Regions from separate parts of the Homo sapiens genome. Here all the other regions are linked to region 2. The links are contacts of gene promoters, found by promoter capture Hi-C in blood cells and fetal thymus (Javierre and others, 2016). All regions are on one chromosome and are shown on one strand. The core of a region is centred on a gene start or on the middle of the fragment in contact, and the rest is flanking DNA. Distances in the headings are between cores, read along the strand shown. Region 1 holds the start of LOC107984377 (a long non-coding RNA gene). Region 2 holds the start of ENDOD1 (endonuclease domain containing 1). Region 3 overlaps CEP57 (centrosomal protein 57). Region 4 has its middle 110 kb from the start of FAM76B. Region 5 has its middle 49 kb from the start of FAM76B. Region 6 overlaps CEP57 (centrosomal protein 57).

The links. Contacts are between HindIII fragments. The CHiCAGO score rates a contact against its expected background, and 5 or more counts as called.
Region 1: a contact is called between a fragment that was not itself captured here and the fragment with the promoter of ENDOD1 in region 2, in 7 of 17 cell types (monocytes, total CD8 T cells, neutrophils and 4 more). The highest score is 7.7, in monocytes.
Region 3: a contact is called between a fragment that was not itself captured here and the fragment with the promoter of ENDOD1 in region 2, in 1 of 17 cell types (total CD8 T cells). The highest score is 5.6, in total CD8 T cells.
Region 4: a fragment that was not itself captured here is called in contact with the fragment with the promoter of ENDOD1 in region 2 in 1 of 17 cell types (neutrophils); the score reaches 6.6 in neutrophils.
Region 5: a contact is called between a fragment that was not itself captured here and the fragment with the promoter of ENDOD1 in region 2, in 12 of 17 cell types (non-activated CD4 T cells, monocytes, total CD4 T cells and 9 more). The highest score is 9.0, in non-activated CD4 T cells.
Region 6: a contact is called between a fragment that was not itself captured here and the fragment with the promoter of ENDOD1 in region 2, in 10 of 17 cell types (total CD8 T cells, naive CD8 T cells, non-activated CD4 T cells and 7 more). The highest score is 7.9, in total CD8 T cells.

The regions. Positions count from the first base shown.
Region 1 is chr11:95,696,327-95,699,870 of GRCh38, reverse strand. LOC107984377 (a long non-coding RNA gene) reads right to left here and starts at 514. Exons shown (of 2, transcript XR_001748337.2): 1 at 332-514. The HindIII fragment of the contact is 4,092 bases long and covers 148-3,544 here.
Region 2 is chr11:95,087,629-95,091,367 of GRCh38, reverse strand. ENDOD1 (endonuclease domain containing 1) reads right to left here and starts at 1,522. Exons shown (of 2, transcript NM_015036.3): 1 at 1,141-1,522. The coding sequence starts at 1,440. RefSeq lists a silencer at 1,271-1,700 and enhancers at 1,711-1,770, 1,841-2,120. The HindIII fragment of the contact is 8,670 bases long and covers 575-3,739 here.
Region 3 is chr11:95,829,507-95,833,083 of GRCh38, reverse strand. It overlaps CEP57 (centrosomal protein 57), which reads right to left. Exons shown (of 11, transcript NM_014679.5): 11 at 391-2,058. The coding sequence ends at 1,828. It overlaps MTMR2 (myotubularin related protein 2), which reads left to right. Exons shown (of 15, transcript NM_016156.6): 15 at 1-204. Among named protein-coding and RNA genes, the nearest start is that of CEP57, 41 kb to the right of the region's middle. The HindIII fragment of the contact is 4,048 bases long and covers 1-3,505 here.
Region 4 is chr11:95,676,328-95,679,884 of GRCh38, reverse strand. No RefSeq gene overlaps it. Among named protein-coding and RNA genes, the nearest start is that of FAM76B, 110 kb to the left of the region's middle. The HindIII fragment of the contact is 1,921 bases long and covers 784-2,704 here.
Region 5 is chr11:95,739,249-95,742,718 of GRCh38, reverse strand. No RefSeq gene overlaps it. Among named protein-coding and RNA genes, the nearest start is that of FAM76B, 49 kb to the left of the region's middle. The HindIII fragment of the contact is 8,213 bases long and covers 1-3,470 here.
Region 6 is chr11:95,799,382-95,803,049 of GRCh38, reverse strand. CEP57 (centrosomal protein 57) reads right to left here. Exons shown (of 11, transcript NM_014679.5): 2 at 3,662-3,668. Among named protein-coding and RNA genes, the nearest start is that of CEP57, 11 kb to the right of the region's middle. The HindIII fragment of the contact is 2,015 bases long and covers 1,178-3,192 here.

The DNA.
Region 1 (3,544 bases), core at 944-3,443, 610 kb before region 2:
TAAAAAGTGAATGTTTGATTTCTACAACTTACAGAGAAAGTTAAATGAATTCAGACTTTTTTTATAGGTGTAAGTGGGACTCCACCAGCACCACCAGACTTTGTGAATGGTGTCTGTGTCCAGAAGGCACCATCTTGCAATCAAGCTTTTTAATCTTCTCAGCATCCATAAAGACTTCACTAAATCTCTTTAACAGCAAAGCAAACAATGTGTCCATCAATGGGACAAAAACATGAACCAGATTGCCTCACTGCAAGCCCAGATTTGGACCCACAGTGTTAAACTATAATGGAAATTAATAAGGTGGAAAATCAAGAGAGAGAAAACATACCATTTCTTCCTCTCTCTCTTTGATCAAAGTTGACTCTCCTCTCTAAGATAGTGGGAGGTGATATGGCAGGTAGTTCTTTTCACACTGACTCACAGAACTGCTCTGTGCAAGAAACAACTCCCTCTTTGTGAAATCCAGGAACATCATGGCTGAGGCAAACAGAAATGCATGAGTAAAGGGATGTGCTGTTCAAATGGGCAGAGATGAGCAGCCTACCCTTGTGATCTTTCATACAGAAGGACTTCTGTTTGTAAAAGGCAGGGAAGGAGAGCTTGCTGAAGAAGCTGCCCTCAACAACAATATTTTTGGATTCTTACATGCTGATCTTTTAAGAAGTAGCTGAATTTCCTCATGAAACACTGTGTTTTTTCTCGTCTTCAAATGACTCAATCTGGCGTGCTGGAAATTTCAGTTTGTGGCCCAGCTTTCCTGCAGAATAGCTACATGGTCTTGCACAAGGTTTGCAATCCATGGAGAAGATAAGACAATGGGTATAAAATGTTAAGTCCTAGATGAATGAAAATAATAATTATTATGTAAGGAGTATCCCAAATCCATTTTCCTTCCTAAGGAGAAGACTTAAATTAGCCCTGTCCAAAAAAGAAATTCTTGCTAATTTTCTTTTTATCTCCAATCACCAGCATCCCGACCACAGGTCTTAACCTAGCATAGTATCCTTCCTCTTTCTTTGTTTCTTCCTGTAGAGTGTGAATACTACTTTTAATCTTATGTAGGTATTATTCGATGATTATTATTCTACTCTTTCTGTTCTCTACATATTGATCCTGCAAATATTGGCTGTTTCAGAGAGTGGAAATCTCTCAAGGGCATGGAATCATAAAAGTGAAACACAACTAGGTGTTGACTAATACTTTGTGTTAACTTGAAGACAAGGTTGATGATGATAATGATGATCTTTTTCACAGTTTACTAAAAGTAAGGGAAGTGGTAAATTTATTCCCAAACATCCCTCAGAGAAAGATCCTAAGATGTATGCAAAAATCATGGAGAGAGAAAAAAATAATGAAGAAAAGGAAGAATGACCTAGTCTTGTCCTTTTACATGTATAGAGAGCATTTCCACTTCTACATTTCATCATTATGTGAAATTCAACATGTCTTAAACCAAACTCTCTTTTCTCCCTCAAAGCAGCTCTCCTGATTAGCGTCCCCATTTCAGGTTTATTCTCATAGCTTCCTAAGCTCAAAACCCCTGAGTCATTTATTACTGCTGCCTCTTCCACGCACTCATACCCAATCAGTAATCAAGTTCGTTGTTTCTGCCTTCAAAATAATTTTCATATTTTTCCCCTTCAGTTGCCATGGATACCGTAAAATTTCCCTTTTTGCTTCATGCCTGGACAACTGTGGTAACTTCCCGAGTCTCTCGGCTCCAATCTGCCTTGCAGACAGCTGCTGCTGGAATAATTTCTTTTGCCATGTCATACCCCTGCCCAGAACCCTGCAGTGGCTCCTCACTGTTCTTACTTAAAACCCAAATCCTTTAAAGAAATTTGCATGGCCTTCTATAATCTGACCATATTTAAAGAATCCCTGCTAATTTACACGATGACTTTGTGCAAAATTGAGAAGTCACCCCCTCTGGGCATAGGAAGCCTTGCGATTTAAGGCTCAGCTAAAGAATCAAGCCTTTTTGCATTCTAAAAGGTGGTCTCATCCTTAGGGTGTACCCTGTCCTGCTGTAGAGTACACAGGGCCCTTAGAGAGCAGGGCAAAGGCTGTTTTTCAGCCTCCAACCACTCAGAGGTCCTAGGAGTAACCCTCACGGCCATAGGCAGGCCCTGCAGCCTTCCTGTTCAACCTGATTTCTTTTTGCATGGAAGCTCAATCCTTCTCTCGGACAACTTTGCTTTCCCTGAACAAGCTGTACTTAAGTTTACCAGAGTCCCTTGACTCATGTTTTTTGCATTTCTTGAAATACACTTCTGTTTCTTCATAGCTGGATAATTCTTGCTTGCCCTTCAAAGTTCACCTCCAATGTTACTCCTGTGGGAAGCCTTTTCTAACTCCATCGTCTGAAAAAAAATGACCTTCTTAGTTCCTATAGCAGTGTGCATACTCAGTTGTAGTACAGAGGAGTCAAATTTGATAACCTACGATGCAGATGGGCCAGAGTATGTACTTTTCAAATTTTGGGTGGCTGATTTTATGTGGCTCTGGATTTTAAGGTAACTCTGTGTGTTTTGGATAAATAATCTGACACTTCAAATGTTCTAACTGCCCTCTCTAGGGAGTAGATAGAGTCTGGAAGCAAGGGAAGGTTTGCGTGAATTAATGGTATCCAGGAAGCAGGGGAGAGGTGGGCAATTTATGTGCTGTCCTTCTTTGCTTGCTTCTGGGGCTCTAGTTAAGCTCATCCCACCTGGTCTTTGGGAGTCAGCCTCTATTTACATTAAAGCTGCTACTGAGCAGCGTATGGCTGTTGTAACTCCACTCAGGTTGTATTCTTCCAGGATGGGTGAGGCATGATGATGGCTCTTGTGATATGATTACACACACACACACACACACACACACACACACACACACACACACACACACACACACAGGTTTTCATATACAGTTCCTAGCTCAGAAACCTCATAATCTTTGTTATATTCTTTTGTCACAATGTTGGGGTACTTTAGGCCTTAGGAACAGGCCTCAGAAAATGGAATCTCTCTCTCTGACCTTCTCCTGCCTTCTTTTCACCTGCCCAAGGCAGGACTCTCATCTGATTGTGGGTCATGAGAACCTCATTCCAGAGTGGGTTCTACCCCATACTCCGCAGGAAGGAATGCTGCACAGAGAGATCCAGAAAACCCTGAGCAGGCAGGCCTTGCTGGGTTTATTCAGGTCATATCCTTTCTGTACAGTCACATTGTGACACAGTTGTCCATGCTTCCAGACCTTCCCTATGTATCTCTTCATTTGGCTGTTTATTTGTATTCTTTAAAATATCCTTCATAACATACCAGTAAATATGTTTCTGTAAGTTCTATGAGCTGCTCTAATAAATAAATCAAACCCAAAGATAGGGTCATGGGAACCCCAACTTGAAGCTGATCGGTCAGGAGTTCTGGAGGCCTGGACTTGAGGCTGGTGGGAGAAGGGGGCAGACTTGTAGGACTGAGCCCTCCATATGTGATATCTGTTGCTGTTTCTGGGTACATAATGTTAGAACTGATTGGAGGATACCCGGGGAAAAACCCCC
Region 2 (3,739 bases), core at 273-2,772:
ACCTGGCCAAGACCTCAGAGCTAGAAATATCTGAATGAGATTACAACCCACAGGCTCTGAATAAAGCACCTGAAAGCCAGCCTCCTGTCCACTGGTGTGGTCCTGGGCAGCTGTGGCCGTCAGGAAAGGGAGAGCGTTGGGTCAGTTCTTCCCCCAGCAGCCTGGGCAGGGGTGGGAGGCTGGTGAGAGGGCAAAGGGGAGTCTGGCAGGGTGTTCTAGAGAGGAGGCCAACTGAGGAGAGGTATTAAGAGCAGGCCAGCAGGTTCGGAAGACTCTGAGGGCTTCTCAAGTGTTTGGTCACCTTTACCAGACGGGACAGAACACCATGAGAGGTGACACGATTTCCTAGTGGTATGATAATATAGATATGAGGAGTCAGGAAAAACTGGCTTATCTTTCCATCAGTTGGAGGTAGTCAATGTTTCCCTATCATTTTTAACTACCCCATTGCGTTTCTAAAAATCTGTATCTTTATTTCATTGTTCTAATTCAACACAACCGCAGATCGAATTTACTCAACGCCGTGGTAGAGGAAGGATTTTCAGGCTAGGATGAGCTCTGCAGAAGAGAAGCTTTACTTAGTAGAAAAGGCAGTGAATTTCTAGACAGAGACCTGCCCCATCTTACTAACTGGGTAGTCTTCCATATGTCTCTTCACCCCCTGGGTTTATCTCCTCTTCTGTAAAATGGGGATGAAAATGCCCACCTACCCACCTCCAAATGAGTGCTATGGCAATAAGTTGCACGAAGGCCTGTGAGCGCCCAGCCTAGGCTTTCTGCGGATCTGAACGGTCTCCAGGGTCTCTGTATCAAGCTCTTCACCATTCAGGAATGAAACACTGCGGATGTCTGCTCAGAAATGCAGGGAGAACCTCCTCCCACAGGGGACCTCCCGCCCTGCAGCTCATGAAGTGAAGGCTCGCAGATCGCCAGGCTCTTATTGTAGCTCGACAGGGGCGAGGCAGGCTAACTCCGGGGACGCAACAGGGTGGACCTGGAACCCGGGTTTCTTGGCCCAAGGCACCGAAGGCGTAGGGATTGCTGTTCCCGGCCCGCCCCTCGCGGTAGCTGCAACTGGGGGCATGTCCAGCGGCACGGTCTCCGGCGCCCGCAGCCCGGCTCGGGAACCACTTCGCTTACCTGCGGCTCCACCAGCCATCGCTGCTCGGCGCCGCCGGGCGCAGGGCGCGGGGCGCGGAACGCGGAGTACACGGGGATGCGGTCCCGGGTGCTGTAGAGGGTGGCGAAGCGCTCAGCACCCTCCGCGCGCTGACAGATCTTCACGTGGGAATCGGCCGCCAGCCCCGCAGGCGGGGTCCCGGCGTAGAAGAACTTGTCACATTCGCCAAAGCCGGCTTCCTCCTCGCCCACGAGCCGGCCTTCCAGCAGCCCAGCCAGGGCGAAGAGGCTGCCCAGCGCGAGCCAGCGCGCGGTGCCCATGGCGGCCTCTGCGAGCGCGGCGGGGCCGAGCGGCTGGGCTGCCGCGGCGCGAGCTCTGCAGGCTGGGCGGGGAGCGCACTACGCAGCCGAGCAGGGTAGGGAAGGGAAGTCGCAACCTAGGCGCGGCGCTCTGCGGAGCCGGGCGGGGCGGCCCGGGCGGCGGGGGCGGGTCCGCGTCGGGAGGCCGCGCCTCCCTCCCTGAAGATGGCTGCAGAGGCCCAGGGCCGCGCTCCGCGATGCTGACAACGTACCCTGGGCTGCGCCCGGGACTGGAGACGCGGGTCACCTGCCTCCGCGCCGCCTGGTCTCAGCAGTCCGGGGGACGCGCGCTACCAAGAGTGGAGAATCCGAGTGGGGCGGGCCTAGTCCCGGGGCTGGGAAGAGATAGTCGCATGGACTGGGCGCCAAGAAGCCTGCTGATCGCGCGCGCCCCACGGCCGCCCTGGTGATGCAGAGGGGTGGCGTGAGATGCTCGTGGAGCTGCGGCTGGTTCGGAGTGGATGGGCAGAGTTCCCCTCTGAAATTTCATGAAGATGCGTCTCCCACTCTCCACCGAAGTACTCAACGACCAGCACACGCATACAATTTTGATGGAGTTTTTTGTTTTTTGTTATGTTTTTTTAGCTCACCAGAAACTCAGAGAGTAAAGAAATACTGTTAAAGGAAGTTCCTAAACTAGGCAGACAGTATAACCCTGTGTGGTTTTCTTGGTGCAAGTGTTAGAAACAAAACCGATACCAAGCAAGGAAGGAGGCCAGCCAACGTCATTGGTCAACAGGTTGGCCAATTCTTTCCTTCATTTATCCCTCTGAATGCCTAGGTGCCAGCCTGAGATAGGCACTGGATTACCACAGGGGTAAACAAGAGCAGGGCTCCTGCGGTCACAAAGACAGCCTAGTGGGAAAGTTTGTCATTAACCGAGGAAACATGCTATTAAAGGGATAACTAAAAACTGAACACAGATCTGTGAGACCCTGACAGCTACAGGGGTTCAGGATGTAATCCGGGAAGGTTTGCCTGAAGAAGTGGCATCTGAGCTGAGACCTGGAGGATGACATTAACTAGGCAAGGAGGAAAACCATGTGCTAAGTGGTCTCCCACAGAAGGGAACATGATGTATTGGAGGAATTTAAGGAAGGCTAGTGTGGGTAAAGCGCGGAGAACCGCGTGGGGGATGATGGGAAGTGGGGCTAAAGGAGGAGGCAGGGGTCATATTACTCAGGTTATTATAGGCCAGAGGCCTTCAAACACTTTTTGAGAAGGCCCATAATGAGAAAAGTTTGATGAAATAATTCTTATGCTTATGATTGGCATTGCAATTTCATATTTCTGTTCTACTTCACTTTTTTAAAAAAGTGCTGGTGTTGACCCACTAAATTGTTTCTATGAGCCACTAATGGCTCATGACCTGCAGTTTGGAAAAAATATTGTAAATCATGTTGAGGATTTTCATCTTTTAAAGGTGGTGACTCGATTCTTTTTGCTATCAGGGAAGAGACTGGTAGATTGAAGTGGCACAGAATAAATGGGTGGCTCACACCTGTAACCCCAGCACTTTGGGAGGCTGAGGCAGGCGGATCACCTGAGGTCGGGAGTTTGAGACCAGCCTGGCCAACTTGGTGAAACCCGTCTCTACTAAAAACACAAAAAAATTAGCTGGGTGTGGTGGCGGGCACCTGTAATCCCAGCTGCTTGGGAGGCTGAGGCAGGAGAATCGCTTGAACCCAGGAGGCGGAGGTTGCAGTGAGCCAAAATTGTGCCACTGCATTCCAGCCTGGGCAACAGAGCCAGACTTTGTCTCAAAAAAGAAAAGGAAAAGAAAAGAAAAACACCCCATAATTGCCACAATCCAGATAAGAGATGGTAGCTTGGACCAGGATGGTAGGATGGTGGCAGCAGAGATAGGGTCAAGGCAGCTACCCAGGGCCAGGGCCTGTGCTCATCTTACGATGTCATCTGTTTCCCCAGTGTGCCACTACAGGGACTGAGACCAGAGCCTGTTGATTCTGGCCTAAGCTGGCACAGCCAGTGAGTCCTAAGACAGATTTGAAACAGGTCTCTCTGCTTCCCAAGCCTGGCCTTTTCTTTTAACTCACAGCGCATCTGTAAGGTGAGCCCATAAAGAAGGAAGCTCTTCAAGAGATTATACATTGGAACTTAAGAACAAATTTCTTACAGGTTTTAATTCCGGAAAATGTTGACTATGTTTGGTCCCAGAAATGAAACCAAAGTTTGTATCTTAGTTTTTTTAAAAAAAGGAGGGGACACATTTAGTGTGATGTCACAGAAGAGGCTAGAC
Region 3 (3,577 bases), core at 232-2,731, 740 kb before region 2:
CATCTCTTCCTTTGGGAAGTTATCTGATTCACGACTGCCTTCTCTGACATCCCCACCTTCCTCTGTGCCCCCATAGCACTGTGTATACCGCTACTACCACTGCAATTCACATTATATTGGAATGAACAATTCACATGTCTACCACAAGTCTGTAAACATAACCTTATTTGAAATGAATTGCAATAAAGCTCTGTTACAACGTAAGTGGATGGATGACACATTCCTCTACTGTAAACTTGCAGATAAGAAAATGGAAGCAGTATTTTTTCACTTCTCACCTGACAGTACAAAAAGCTGGAGTAGTTCAGTTTGAATCCTAGCTGAGAAAAGGGGTGGGATTTAGCATCATTCAATCACCATTCTCCTAATTAGGACTCAGAGCCACTACAATTCAAATGATGGTTATACAATTTAATGACCTGAAATTCAAACAAGGAGATAACAGGAGTTTTTAATAGCTGAAATGGTGGTTGACACATATATTTATCATGTCACCAGAGCACTGTTTCTCACTTCCCTTGTGTCTATGGGCTCACAATTATTAATTCAATCAAGCTACGAACCTACTCATTAGAAAACTGGACACAGAAGCACAAGTTTACAATTTCAGGAGAGTCACAAATAATACCCCAAAATCTTAAGGATCCTAAATTAAAGCCTGTTACTGTAGTATCTTGTATCATGAGGAAATCTAATATTCTTGGGCTCTCTTTCTATGTAAGCATGAGTGTGGCAACTAAGTACTAGTTTTTTCTCTTCATCAATACATTGATGTCCTCCTATTTAGAAATGCATTTTTTGAGAGCTTGTCACAAAGCCTTTATTAACAGGCTGTTAAGGAAAGTTGCAGTGTTTCCTTTAAAAAGGTGCTTTATTGACTTTAAATTTATAAAAGGTTAACATGTCTTGATCTAGTTGAAATTATGATTTATATCAACATGATAATTATGTGTACAGTTTATATTCCACTCATACTGTACACCAGTAAAAGCAAATATTCAAAGGGTTCTCTAAGTTTCAAGATTAAAAACCATAATGCCTTGACTGAATATCATGATTACAAAACAGGTATTAAGAACTGTGAAGGTATATGCTCACAACATATCCCTTCTCCCATTCTCACTTTATTCCAAAATCTCATTTATTTCACTGACAATTTGTTTATACTTTCAAAAATCCTTTTATAATTTTTATAGATATAACTCAAAATGACTGCTTGGGTCTTTAAAAAATTAACAGATTAAAAAGCAATACAAGTGCACTTAACACTGATCAAAGTCTGAAATGCCAAAAAGCAAAATAAAAATCCTCTGAAATATATATGTATTTTTAAATATAGAAAAACTCCACCAATAGTAGAAACAAAGTATGTTTAATGGTTGCTTTGGAAAGGGGAAGTGGGCACCTCATGCCAGGGAGATTTAAAAATGAGACTTTTCAAGCAAGCACTGCCTATAGCATAGTCTCATATTTTGAAAATTTAAACCTAATTTTAATTATATATAAAGAACTATTTTAAAAAATCACACCCACAAGTAAAAAACTGGTAATCTGTTTACAAAGTGCAGCGTCAGTACAGCAAACTCATCTCAACAAAAGATTATGTGTGGTTTCTCGGGCTTTAAAACTCCCCTGGTTTCCATTTAAATGCTTTAACATTGAGTCATCCTGCATACATGAAAAGCCTGTGTAATGAAGCCTGGGTCCTTTAACACCTGCTATTAATTAATTCCAACATAAGTGAGTATGAGACCTGGGAAGTAAATTGTCATCATCTGATTGATGAGGTACAGATTATCTGAATAAAATTTCTGACCTGGTTATGAGTCAGTAATCCCAACACAAACTACTGCTTTGTAATGAATTCTGTATGCTTTGCATGTCCTTCAATAACTGAAGATTTTTTCTCCTTTTTTCTCCAGGTCTCAGTTTCATAAAATCTTTCTTATTTGTGGTCCCTGTGATTCCAGAACGGCTGCTGCTGTTTCTTTCTTCATCAAGAGTCTTTTTGGTAGCTTTTAATTCCTTCTTCTGCTTCTCTAACTTCTGTTTCTCCAGCTATACCAAATAACCAAGGCAGGAAGGAAAAGGAGAATTTAATGAAAATATTTTTTTTCTGACAACAAAAAGTACAAGAGTACCTTTTTTTGGTTAACTCTCATGCTAACTGAAAAATAATACATTCTAGGCTTTCTTTTAAAGACTTCAAAATCTACTGCACTAGTCATTTAACACTTAAATATTAATATAAATAAATATATGCTTATATATATATAAAACAATACACAAACAAGTAGACATGAGTAAACAAATTCTGGTTGTCCTAAATTAAGGCAATATTGCCAAAGTACAGAACAGGGCGAGTGAGAAACAAGGGGAGTTGAAGGAAAGACTCATGAAGGAGGCAAAAAATCAGACACAGAGAAAAGAAGAATGGGAAGGATTTTCACAAATGGGAGAAGAGGAGAAAGATATTCTAGAAACTAGTCTGAGGAGGCAAAGAAGCAATTTCCAGATGGATGAACAGATGTAATTGGTAATGTATTAATACTATGAAAAGAATTTTATTTTTGTTCCATTATTTTTAGAATAATTTTAAATACGGGAGCTTTATTTTTACTTTAGCCAAACTGATGCTGGCATGTTGGTGTTCCAATAGAATAAGTCTAATTAGTATAAGCAACAAATTAGACCATTACTCCTTACTCCTACAGGAATAATTTGCTTGTATTTCTTTTTCATACATGAACTTTGAAAAAACAGCCAAAGTTTTAGAGTTGAAAAGGCTAGTTTCATCCCAGCTCTGCCATTTCCCAGTAAGCTGGTACTTGGGCAAGTTATTTAATTTCACTGAGGATATATGCATACTTCCCAGAAAATGTGGCTTAGCATCTACCTCATCTATAATATGAGAATATACCCACCTCAGAAGCCTTTTGTGAAAATTAAATGAGAAGATATACTCAGAGCACTTGGCACTGTGTGTCTATCATATGGCTACCAATCAACAGTCAACAAAACTGTTCTGCTCTCTGAACTTCTCAGCTTTCTCCATTTTAGTCAGTGGAATCACCATCCTAACTCCCTCTCCTTCTACATGATACCCAGCAGCAAGTAACCCCAATATTTTTTTTACTTCCAAAACATACCTCAAATCTGTTTACCTCTGCCCAAACCCAACTACTGTCTTGCTGACCACCTCTGATACATCTATAGCTGATCTCTCAGCCTCTCTGCCTTGATCCCATTACCCTACCCCTAGTCACTACAGTAATCTCTTAAATATATGAATCATGTTTCTCTCTGGTTGAAAACCCTTGAGTGTGATGTCACCACTGCATCTGGTAGTACTACATTGTTGGCTGATATAAAATGATTAGCAACATAAATATATTTCACATATTTAATGTATGACTTATTCCTTTGGAAACAGAATTTCGCAGGTGCTTTTAAAAAAACTTACTTGGATAAACTCCAATTTAAATTCATCAAAGAAGTTAAAGCTTATTCATAAAGAATATTAAATATATTCAGTATTTGAAAGATGTTTCTTAGATGAATATGCTAAGTGACTAAA
Region 4 (3,557 bases), core at 495-2,994, 590 kb before region 2:
TAATCATACCATTTATACAGTACTTCCACATTTTTTTTCCATGCTCCTAGTGCCAATATCCTAAAGTCAGCAGAATAGCTACTTTATATGCTCATGTTACAAATGGAAGTCTGTGGCTCAGAAGGATTACTGACTGGTGCTAGTGACCAGAGTGTGGCATGAGGGGGAGAAGATATGTCTTATCCATATTGATCTAATGGTATTGATTTGAATACCTACAAAATGGTTCATAAAGGAGTTTTAAAATTTAACTTCCTAAAGAATTGACTCACACAATTGTGGAGGCTGGGAAATCCAAAATCTGCAGGGTAGGCCAGCCAGCTGGTGACCGAGGGAAAAGCTGATGTTGCAGCTCAAGTCCGAGGGTGGTTGGGGCAGAATTCCCTCTTCCTTTGGGATCTCTGTCTGTTTATTCTTAAGGCCATCAACTGATCAGATGAGGCCCATTCATGTTATAGAAGGTAATCGGCCTTACTCAAAGTTTACTGATTTAAATGTGTAATTGACTTAAATCTCATCTAAAAGTAGCTTAACGAAAAGCATTTAGACTTGTGTTTGACCAAATGTCTGAGTACAATGGCCTAGGCAAGTTGACACGTAAAATTAACCATCACGTCAAGTAACTGATGTTCATGAGTGACACACTCCCTCAAACTAGACCGAGTGAGTGTTGTGTCTCCTGAGGGCCAAAGTCCTCTTTGCTGTTTCCCAGTAAAGAACCAAGAATGGTGAGGAAATAATGCCAACAGTGAACAGGATAGAGAGAGGCTTATTCTAAAAGCTTGAGTCAGAGTGGTCTAGAATGAGATATTTTATTTTAAGGAGACCAGATATTGTCTAGTAAGGTTGATGGTTACCACCCAGCTTCAAAAACTATCAGAGCTGGGGTGGACCCTATAGTTTTCTAGCTCTGCCCCTTCTACAGAAAGATGAAGTGAAGGGACTGAGGCCCAAGCCAAAGGCCTTCTTTAAAGAAAGACTGAGGGAAGTCAAGTCCTCTGAGTCCTTGTCCAATGCCACTGATTTTAAAATACTGAATTCCATGGGACTCTTCAGTGACATTCTGGGGCTGGCCATTCACTGGTGATATAACGCAGTCAGGCAGATCTTAATGGAAGGGGAGTCATTAGAGGATCTGGCTAATTGACTATTTGAATTAACAATGTCTTCAGTTGGAAAACTAATGAGAAACAAGGGGTGTTGGAAAAGGGTCTGGCTGAGCTTTATTTTGTGTACAGACTAAAATGAGGTTTTCCCTAAATGACTATTTTCTTTACCAGAATCACTGTTCACATGGCAATCTAAAAATTTCTAAATATTAGCTAAACTAAGATGTTAATAGTTGAGAAATTAGGAAAAGTGTGATAAAAGCCTATATATAATTTTTAGGGCTGAGAAAATTATTTAGAAACCACTGTAAACAAGTGTTTTTGAGTCTGTATATAAGATTACTGAGTTATTCAACTCTATTTCATGCCACATAGCAACACTGGTCTTTTTTTCCCTATATATTTATTGATCATTTATGTTTCTTTCATGTGACTTTCTTACTTATGGCTTTTCTTAAAAAAAACTAAGAAGTAAAAATTGTACATTTTTATGGCATACAATGTGATATGTGTGTGTGGGTGTATATGTATATTTATATGTATGTATATACACACCCATGCACACATTGTGGAAAGATTAAATCAGCCATTTATCATACGCATGATACCTCACATACTTATCTTTTTTGTTTGGTGAGAGCACTTAAACTCTACTGTACTAGCAATTTTCAAGTACACTGCATATTGCTGTTAACTACAGTCATCATGATGTACAATATATCTCTTGAACTTATTCCCCCTAACTGAAATTTTGTGTTCTTTGACCAGCATCTCCCCAGTCCCCCACCTTATGGCCTCTGATAACCACAATTTTCTCTCTGTTTCCATGAGAGTGACTTTTTAAGATTCCACATATAAGTAAGATCATGCAGTATTTTTGTCTTTTTATGCCTGGTTTATTTCACTTTTTAATGTCCACCAGATTCATCCATGTTGTCACAAATGACAGAATTTCTTTGTTTTTTAAGGCTATTATTCCACTGTGTACATATACCACATTTTCTTTATCCGTTCATCTGTTGATGGACACTTAGGTTGATTCCATATCTTGGCTATTGTGAATAGTGCTGTGATAAACACGGGAGTGCTGATAGTACTTCAAGACATTGATTTAATATCCTTTGAATATATACCCAGAAGTGAGATTGCTGGATCATATGGTAGTTCTATTCTTAATTTTTTGGGGAATCTCCATATCATTTTCCATAATAGTTGTACTAATTTACATTCTCACCAACAGTGTACAAGAGGTTCCTTTTCTCTACATCATCACCAACACTTGTTATCTTTTGTCTTTTTGACAGCAGCCATTATAACAGGTGTGAAATAACATACCTTTGTGGTTTTAATTTGCATTTCCCTGATGATTAGTGATGTTGAACATATTTTCACATACTTGTTGGCCCTTTGCATGTCTTCTTTTGAGAAATGTCTATTCAGGTCCTTTGCCCATTTTTAATTGGGTTTTTTTTTACTATTGAGTTGTAAGATATATTTCTTATATATTGTGAATATTAACCCCTTATCAGATGTATGATTTGCAAATATACTTTTGTATTTTGTTGGTTGTATCTTCACTGTGTTGAGCAGAAGCTTTTTAGTTTGATGCAATCCCCTTTGTCTAATTTTGCTTTTATTGCCTGGGCTTTTGGGGTGAAATCCAAAAAAATCATCCCCCAGACCAAGATCATGGAGCTTTTTCTCTGTTGCCTTCTAGCAGTTTACACCTTCAGGTCTTACATTTAAGTCTTTCATTCATTTTCAGTTGATTTTTGTAGATAGTGTGAGTTAAGAGTCTAATTTTATTCTTCTGCACGTGGATATCCACGTTTCTCTGCACCATTTATTGAAGAGACTGTCCTTTCCTTATGGTGTGTTTTCGGCATCTTTGTTGAAAATATTCAATTTCTTGAGCATTAAACTCTCTCCTATCTCAAGGCCTCTGTAAACTCTTCCTTCCTTGCCTAGAATCCACTCTGGCTCCTTCTCATTCTCTAGGACTTAGGTTAAATGCCATCTCCATCCTATCTAAATTAGGCCCCAAGTTGTTATTCTCTTTCACACCACCTGTTCTGTTTCCTTCATGGATCTTATCACAATTTGTAATTATATGTCTGTTGGTTGTCTGTCCCCTTGCACCCGACAGTAAGTTCCCTGAGAACAGGAACTTCATTAGGCAGGGAAAAGATGACACACGATCGAAGGACACTTTGAGCATGGCTTAATTTTAGGGGAAGTTACACTGGTCGGGGCAAGATATAGAAACACCCACAGGGGATGATTCAGTACCTTAGAACTAGTAAGAGTGGGGCCATTGCCACCCTAGGTCTCTAGGGGTAACACAAGAAGGCAGTCACTGGATCTGGAGGGAGAAATTCATGTGCAGAGGAGCATCCTGGGCAGAGCAGCCCCTTTTGAGAGATGTGTCATGGTTGGCTAGCAGAGTTG
Region 5 (3,470 bases), core at 86-2,585, 650 kb before region 2:
TGTAATCCCAGCACTTTGGGAGGCCGAGGCGGGCGGATCACGAGGTCAGGAGATCGAGAACATACTGGCTAACACGGTGAAACCCCGTCTCTACTAAAAATACAAAAAAATTAGCTGGGCATGGTAGCGGGCGCCTGTAGTCCCAGCTACTCGGGAGGCTGAGGTGGGAGAACGGCGTGAATTCAGGAGGCGGAGCTTGCAGTGAGCCAAGATCGCGCCACTGCACTCCAGCCTGGGCGACAGAGCAAGACTCCGTCTCAAAAAAAAAAAAAAAAAAAAAACCACAATGAGATACAATCACGGATTCACTAGAATTACTAAAATTAAAGAGATTGACAATACGAAGTATTTACAAAATGTGGAGCTACTGTAACTCATAAATTAGTTATGAGAATATAAAATGATAGAACACTTTGGAAAACAGTCTGGCATATTCTTATAAAGTTAAAATACAATTATCATAGGACCAGCAATGCTGTTTAGGAATCTACACAGGAGAAAGAGAGCATATGTCCACATAAAAAATTTTACATGAATGTTCATAGCAGCTTTATTCATAACAGCCAAAAAAAAAAAAAAAAAAGCAAACAACTCAAATGTCTATGACTAGGTTGATAAATAAACAAATTATAGTATATTCACACACTGGATTACTACTTAGCAATAAAAAAGAGCAAAGTACTTAAACATGTAACACATAAATGACTCAAAAATAAACTGAATGAAAGAAAATACACAAAAGCAAACGTACGAAATTTTAGCAAAGACAAAAACTCAACTAAAGTGACAGATAAGTGGTTGCTTGGGGACTAGGGTGGCGATAATTTGCTACCAAGGGGACAAGGGAACTTTTTGGGATGATGGAAATGTATTGATGACTGTGGTAGTTATAGAGGTTATACATTTGTCAAATCTCATTCACATATAAATATAAGAAATAGGTGCACTTTATTGTGTATAATTCATACCTTAAGTTGATTTGAAAGACCACGACAATGCATGACTCCCTGACAGGACCGCTGGTCAGCTAGCAGCAACCATTTTACTAGTCATATAAGTTTATGTTACACTGATTCACTATTTAGGTTAGGAGGAGAATATAGCTCCTTTGGTACAGCGATGGGGGCTTTGCCTGGCTAGAATTTATCATGCCCTTTGAGCAGTGGGTGATGTGATGAGATATCCCCAGGATGAAGAAAAGGGAAGGCAAAAGTGCAAAAGTCTGTCATATGGTAACTAATATTCTTGACCAGACAACACTTCTATAGGTCCCAGAGAAATCTGAGTAGAGGGAAAGGCCAGACAAATATATGCTATCCCTTGTCAGGATTTTAGCTCCTCATGCTGCATTTACATTGTGAGAAGTGAGTTTTAAGAGATACCAAAAGGGAACAAAGCATTAAGAAAGAACAATTTAGGCTGGGTGCAGTGGCTCATGCCTGTAATCCCAGTACTTTGGGAGGCCGAGGCAGGCAGGTCACCTGAGGTCGCGAGTTCGAGACCAGCCTGAGCAACATGGTGAAACCCCATCTCTACTAAAAACACAAAAGTTAGCCGGGTGTGGTGGTGCATGCCTGTAGTCCCAGCTACTTGGGAGGCTGAGGCAGGAGAATCGCTTGAACCTGGGAGGCAGAGGTTGCAGTGAGCCGAGATCATGCCATTGCACTCCAGCGTGGGCAACAAAGGCGAAGCTCTGTCTCAAAAAAAAAAAAAAAAAAAAAAGAAAGAAAGAAAGAAAGAACAATTTTCATGGGAGCAAGGGTGCATAAACTCCTTAGTGTTCTACTCCCAACCTTTCAACAGTAATAGCCCAGGCTTATATTGTGTTCATTGTGTACTACACATTTCTTTCATATATATATATATATATATATATATATATATATAGTATATGTCATATATAAAGACACATGCTGCATACAGATATTTGTGTGTGTGCACACACATATATATTTTATATATATAGTTATGCATCATTTAATGATGAAAATGTCCTTTGAGAAATGGATTATTAGGCACATTTATCATTATGTGAATATCATAGAGTGTACTTACACAAACCTAGATAGTAATAGCCTACTGCACATCTAGGCTATATGGTGGTCCAGCCTATTGTTGCTGCTTGGCTACAAACCTGTACAGCATGCTGCTAAACTGAATGCTGTAGGCAATTGTAACATAATGGTAAGTATTTGTGTATCTAGACATACCTAAACATAGAAAAAATACAGTAAAAATACAGCGCAAGAGATAAAATAATGGTATATCTGTATAGGGCAGCTCCATTATAATCTTGTGGGACCATAATTGCATATGCAGTCTGTTGTTGGCAGAAGCATTGTTATGTGATGCATAGCTGCATATAATTTATTCCTATCTCATGACAACCTTGATTATCACTCCTATCTGACAGTTTGGTCATTGAGACACAGAAAGAATAACTAGCTTGCCCAAAGTCACACAGCTACTAAGAGACAGACCTAAGATTTAAACCTGTAGATTATGGTGCTTTCCACAATTCTGCCAGTTGTGCTCTTAAGGTATCAGCACTTCAGAACGATTCCCCTCACAGGTAGAATCAAGCAAAGAGAGACTTCACCTCCCAGTTCAGATTGAGAAATATAAAAAAGAACCCCATCCTTTATGTATGTACATATGTATGGTGAGTGTATTTGCTGAAGGTAACTGCCTACTATCACTTATTTGATTTTTCATTTAACAAATATTTGTTAAATGTGTGACTTCCAGGTATCTGATATTATGCCAATCATTGGGGATTCAGAAATAAATACATTGTAATCCCCAGTTTCAAAGGACTGGAAATTCCTCCAGGATGACTGTGAAAGGCACATAGTGCAGAGGAGAGTTAGAACACTGACCACACTAGCTATAGGCTGGATATTTAGGCCATACAATATCCATCTACATTCTCAGGAGACTGTCTGCACTTGACTCACTGAAGGTCACACCTGGGCATCCCTGGGGATCCTCTTATCTTTACCATTAAGCAATGTGAAGCCATAAAATGATTAGGGTTGGCAGGCTTTTAGAGGATTAATGTTCTAACAAATTGGGTGATTTTGCTCAGCTTAGCTATTGAGGATAACATATTGTGAATTTACTGAGCTCATCTGTGACCAGATTCCTCTGCAGGGTAATTGAAAGTGAGTGGAAATGGCTATTTATGTATTCTCAGCCATTAGATGTTGCTTTCATCTCTGATTTCTTTGGATGATGAGTCAAAATATATACTGAGATCATTGCCTGTGGGTTCCACTTTGCATGTTCAATTAACTAAGGCCTGTGCTTAGTACTGGACATTAAAAGACAGATGGTGAAGGGAAGCTGGACTCAGACTTCAGAAGTGACCCACCAGCCAAATGGGGGTATATTTCTGAATTGCATCTTCCTTTAGGGCTTGATGGCCACTAGGGGTGTGAGTTGCCCTCAGCTAAATTCACAGACCTGTG
Region 6 (3,668 bases), core at 936-3,435, 710 kb before region 2:
AGTCCCTCAAACATATAGACCACATACAATGTGTGAAGCACTCTGCAAGGCGTGAAGACTGTCTTTGGCCTCAAGGAGCTATCATCTAGATTCTGGAACAAATGCTACTATCTACATTCTTCTCACACCTGGTAAAAAAGTATTTACATGAACAAAATACTACTCTGGACATACTCATATCCTTGATTACAGTGGTTCTCAAAATATGGGGCATAGGCACATTGAGGGCAGAGCTCATGAGGCCTTTCCCAGGGCCTGTGAGGTCAACACTATTTTCATAATACTATTAATAGTAAGACTTCACTTTTTTCACTGTGTTGAAGTTTGCCAATGATCATGCAAAAGCAATGTTGGGTAAAATTCCTAATTTTAGCTCAAATCAAGGTAGTAACACTAAACTACTATTTTAGGCATTGTATTCTTCACTGTCATAAATTCCCAGTAAGAAAAACTAAGCCACAATGTCCTTGATGAAGCAATAAAAATCATGTCAGGTTTGCCAGGCACGGTGGCTCACACCTGTAATCCCAGCACTTTGGGAGGCTGAGGTGGGCGGATCACGAGGTCAAGAGATCGAGACCATCCTGGCCAACATGGTTAAACCCTGTCTCTACTAAAAATACAAAAATTAGCCAGGTGTGGTGGCATGTGTCTGTAATCCCAGCTACTCAGGAGGCTGAGGCAGGAGAATTGCTTGAACCTGGGAGGCAGAGGTTGTAGTGAGCCAAGATCATGCCACCGCACTCCAGCCTGGGTGACAGAGTGAGACTGTCTCAAAAAAAAAAAAAAAAAAATCATGTCACGTTTATAAACCTTTCACATGCTGTACTCTTGTTGAACTTTTCTTCTTATAGAACTGTGCTCATTCTTTAAAACTCAGATTATCTATTATTTCGTTTTTCCTCTGAGAGGTTTTCCTCTCCTTTAACCTCCCCAACACACTTATCCCTATCCCCAACAAATGTCTTTTCTGAACTCTCTTGGTCTTTGTTCATATCTCACAGCCTTTATTTTTTTTCTGGGTGAGAAGGGGATAGTGATTTCTGTGTCTTTCCTTCCCATTTGGAAAGTAAGTATCGTTGGATTAAAACACTATAAAAGGATAATGGATTATAATAATTATCCTGGGACATTGCTTAAATAGTTCACCGCATCATGCTCTAAAGGCATAAAAGCTTAAAGGTTACTTTTTATCTTGTTTATTTCTCCTCTCCGTCTCCTCCCTGCTTGTCTCACTTCTCTTTTATTCCTTAAAACCACTGATGTTGCACTCAAGCAGAATTTAGCTCTATTAGTAACATGCTGTGCTAAAATTTTTCTGATTCTCGGTGAATAAATCTGCCTTCTTAATATTTCTTATTCTTTGCTAGTAATTTGTCATTTTTTTGAACTTTTTAAAAGTTTCCTTTCATGGGTGTAAAGATCAGAACTAGATACAATATTATAGTTGAAGGATTAATATCTAATTCTTAGATTTTGTGTTCCTGTTAGAACTTTGTAAATGGATATTTTGTTTTGTGCTTATTTTTGAATAAGAAACTTACTGCAACTGATTTTTGCTCTACTGTGGGCTTCAGTCATTTTTTTTTTTTTTTTTTTGCTTTTTAAAATCTATGTTGTTTGAATGTCATGCAACTTAATTTTCTTAAATTGCCAACCTGCTATACTCTGATGTGTAGAACCTTATCAGTTGCTTTAACCATTAATTAAAAATTTTCGTTATCATCGAGACACAGTATCTTATAATAAAGAGGCTTCTAGGTTAGTGATTACAGAGTACTAAAATTCTTAAAAGACATCACACTATTTAGTTACTTTTATTTCAGTAAACACTTTTCAGCACCCATTATAGGTTAGGATTTAAGCTGGTATTTGGATATCATTACCTACTTGGTATTTTACTGTACAATCAGTCCAGTTTACAAAACAGGTTCATTCTGAGATTTTTAGGATACTTACAATATATATCCCAACTGAAACAAAAAATGTTCCTCAACTAATTTACAAATGCCTGTTTAGCCTACGATGTCAAAAATATTTCTTTTACCTAGAGAATCATTAACACATAGAATTGTTGCAATATTAGTGATTAAACACAACTTTCAAAAAAAGGAAATGCCACAGCATCCCAAATAAAGCAAAGATATTTCATTTAAACTTCACACAAAGTATGAGGTAGGTGTATTTTAAAAGATACAGATGAAGAAACATCTAAAAGACGATTAACAAATTCAATATCAAAACCATCTTTTCATTATCTGAGTGGGCCCAATCTGATAACATAACCAGAAAATTTTCTCCCGCTGTGGTTAGAGAAATGTAACAACAGAACTCAGAGAGATTTGAAACATAAGAGACTTGGCCAGGCGCGGTAGCTCATGCCTGTAATCCCAGCACTTTGGGAGGCCAAGGCGGGTGGATCACGAGGTCCAGAGATTGAGACCATCTGGGCCAACATGGTGAAACCTCGTCCCTACTAAAAATACAAAAACTAGCTGGGCGCGTCTGTAGTCCCAGCTACTCAGGAGGCTGAGGCAAGAGAATAGCAATAGCTTGAATCCAGGAGGCGGAGGTTGCAGTGAGCCGGGATCCCGCCACTGCACTCCAGCCTGGTGACAGAGTGAGACTCTGTCTCCAAAAAAACAATAAAAAATAAAAAAAAAAAAGAAACATGAGAGACTACCTACTGTTACCGTAGGAGACAATAAGGGAAACATGAAGGAAGGAGGACAGTTTCTAGGAGCAAAGACTGTCCTCAAGTAAAAGTCTGCAAAGCAACAGAATCTCAGTACTGCAATGACAAGGAACTGAATTTGGCTAAGAATCTTAATGAGCTTGGAAGCAGATCTTCCCCAGAGCCTCTAGTAAAGAACAGAGCCCCAAGCAAAGCCTTGATTTCAGCCTTGTAAGGCTCTAAACAGAGGACCCAGATAAGCCTACACAGATTTCCGACCTACAGAAAACTGAGATAACAAATATTTAAAGCTAAGTTCATGGCAATTTGTTAAGGCGACAAGAAAACTAATACAGATGGCAGGTTCCAGGAATAAATGTATTTCAAAGTAGCCAGAGCAAAGGATGGGAAAGGAAAAAACAGAAGACAAGTTAGGGATGAAGCTGGTGAGGCATATAGGGTCTAGGTTATGAAAAATTAAGAATTTATTATGTAAGCTATGAAGAGATGCTAAAGCTTTAATTTTGTGGGAGAGATGATGGATAATGACAAATGACAGAAATGTTGTTAACTGGGGATGAGGAGGAGAAAACAGGCAGGGAGATTAATGAGGAATGTACTATGAACATCTGGGCTACAGATGATGAAAGCCTGAACCAAAGCAATGAGAACACAAAAAGGCAGAAAAAACAGTATGCTTTTGGTATATTTCAGAAGCAAAAAAAGGTCTTCATTCCGGACTAATAGTGGGGATTACAGAGCAGTCACTGATGACTCAAAGTGTTTTAGCATCAGTAATTTGGTGGATGATGATGTTCAACAATCAATATAAGGAATACAAGAAAAGCATAATATTTTCTGGGGGCTGAAACTGGAAGCAAAGGGGAAATATATTTTCCTCTAATGGCAAAATAATGGAGGACAAAGTTAAGAATTTTAAAGCAGCAAGAAAACACAAATAACATTTATTTCGTTAGGCTCGATTACCTCTGCT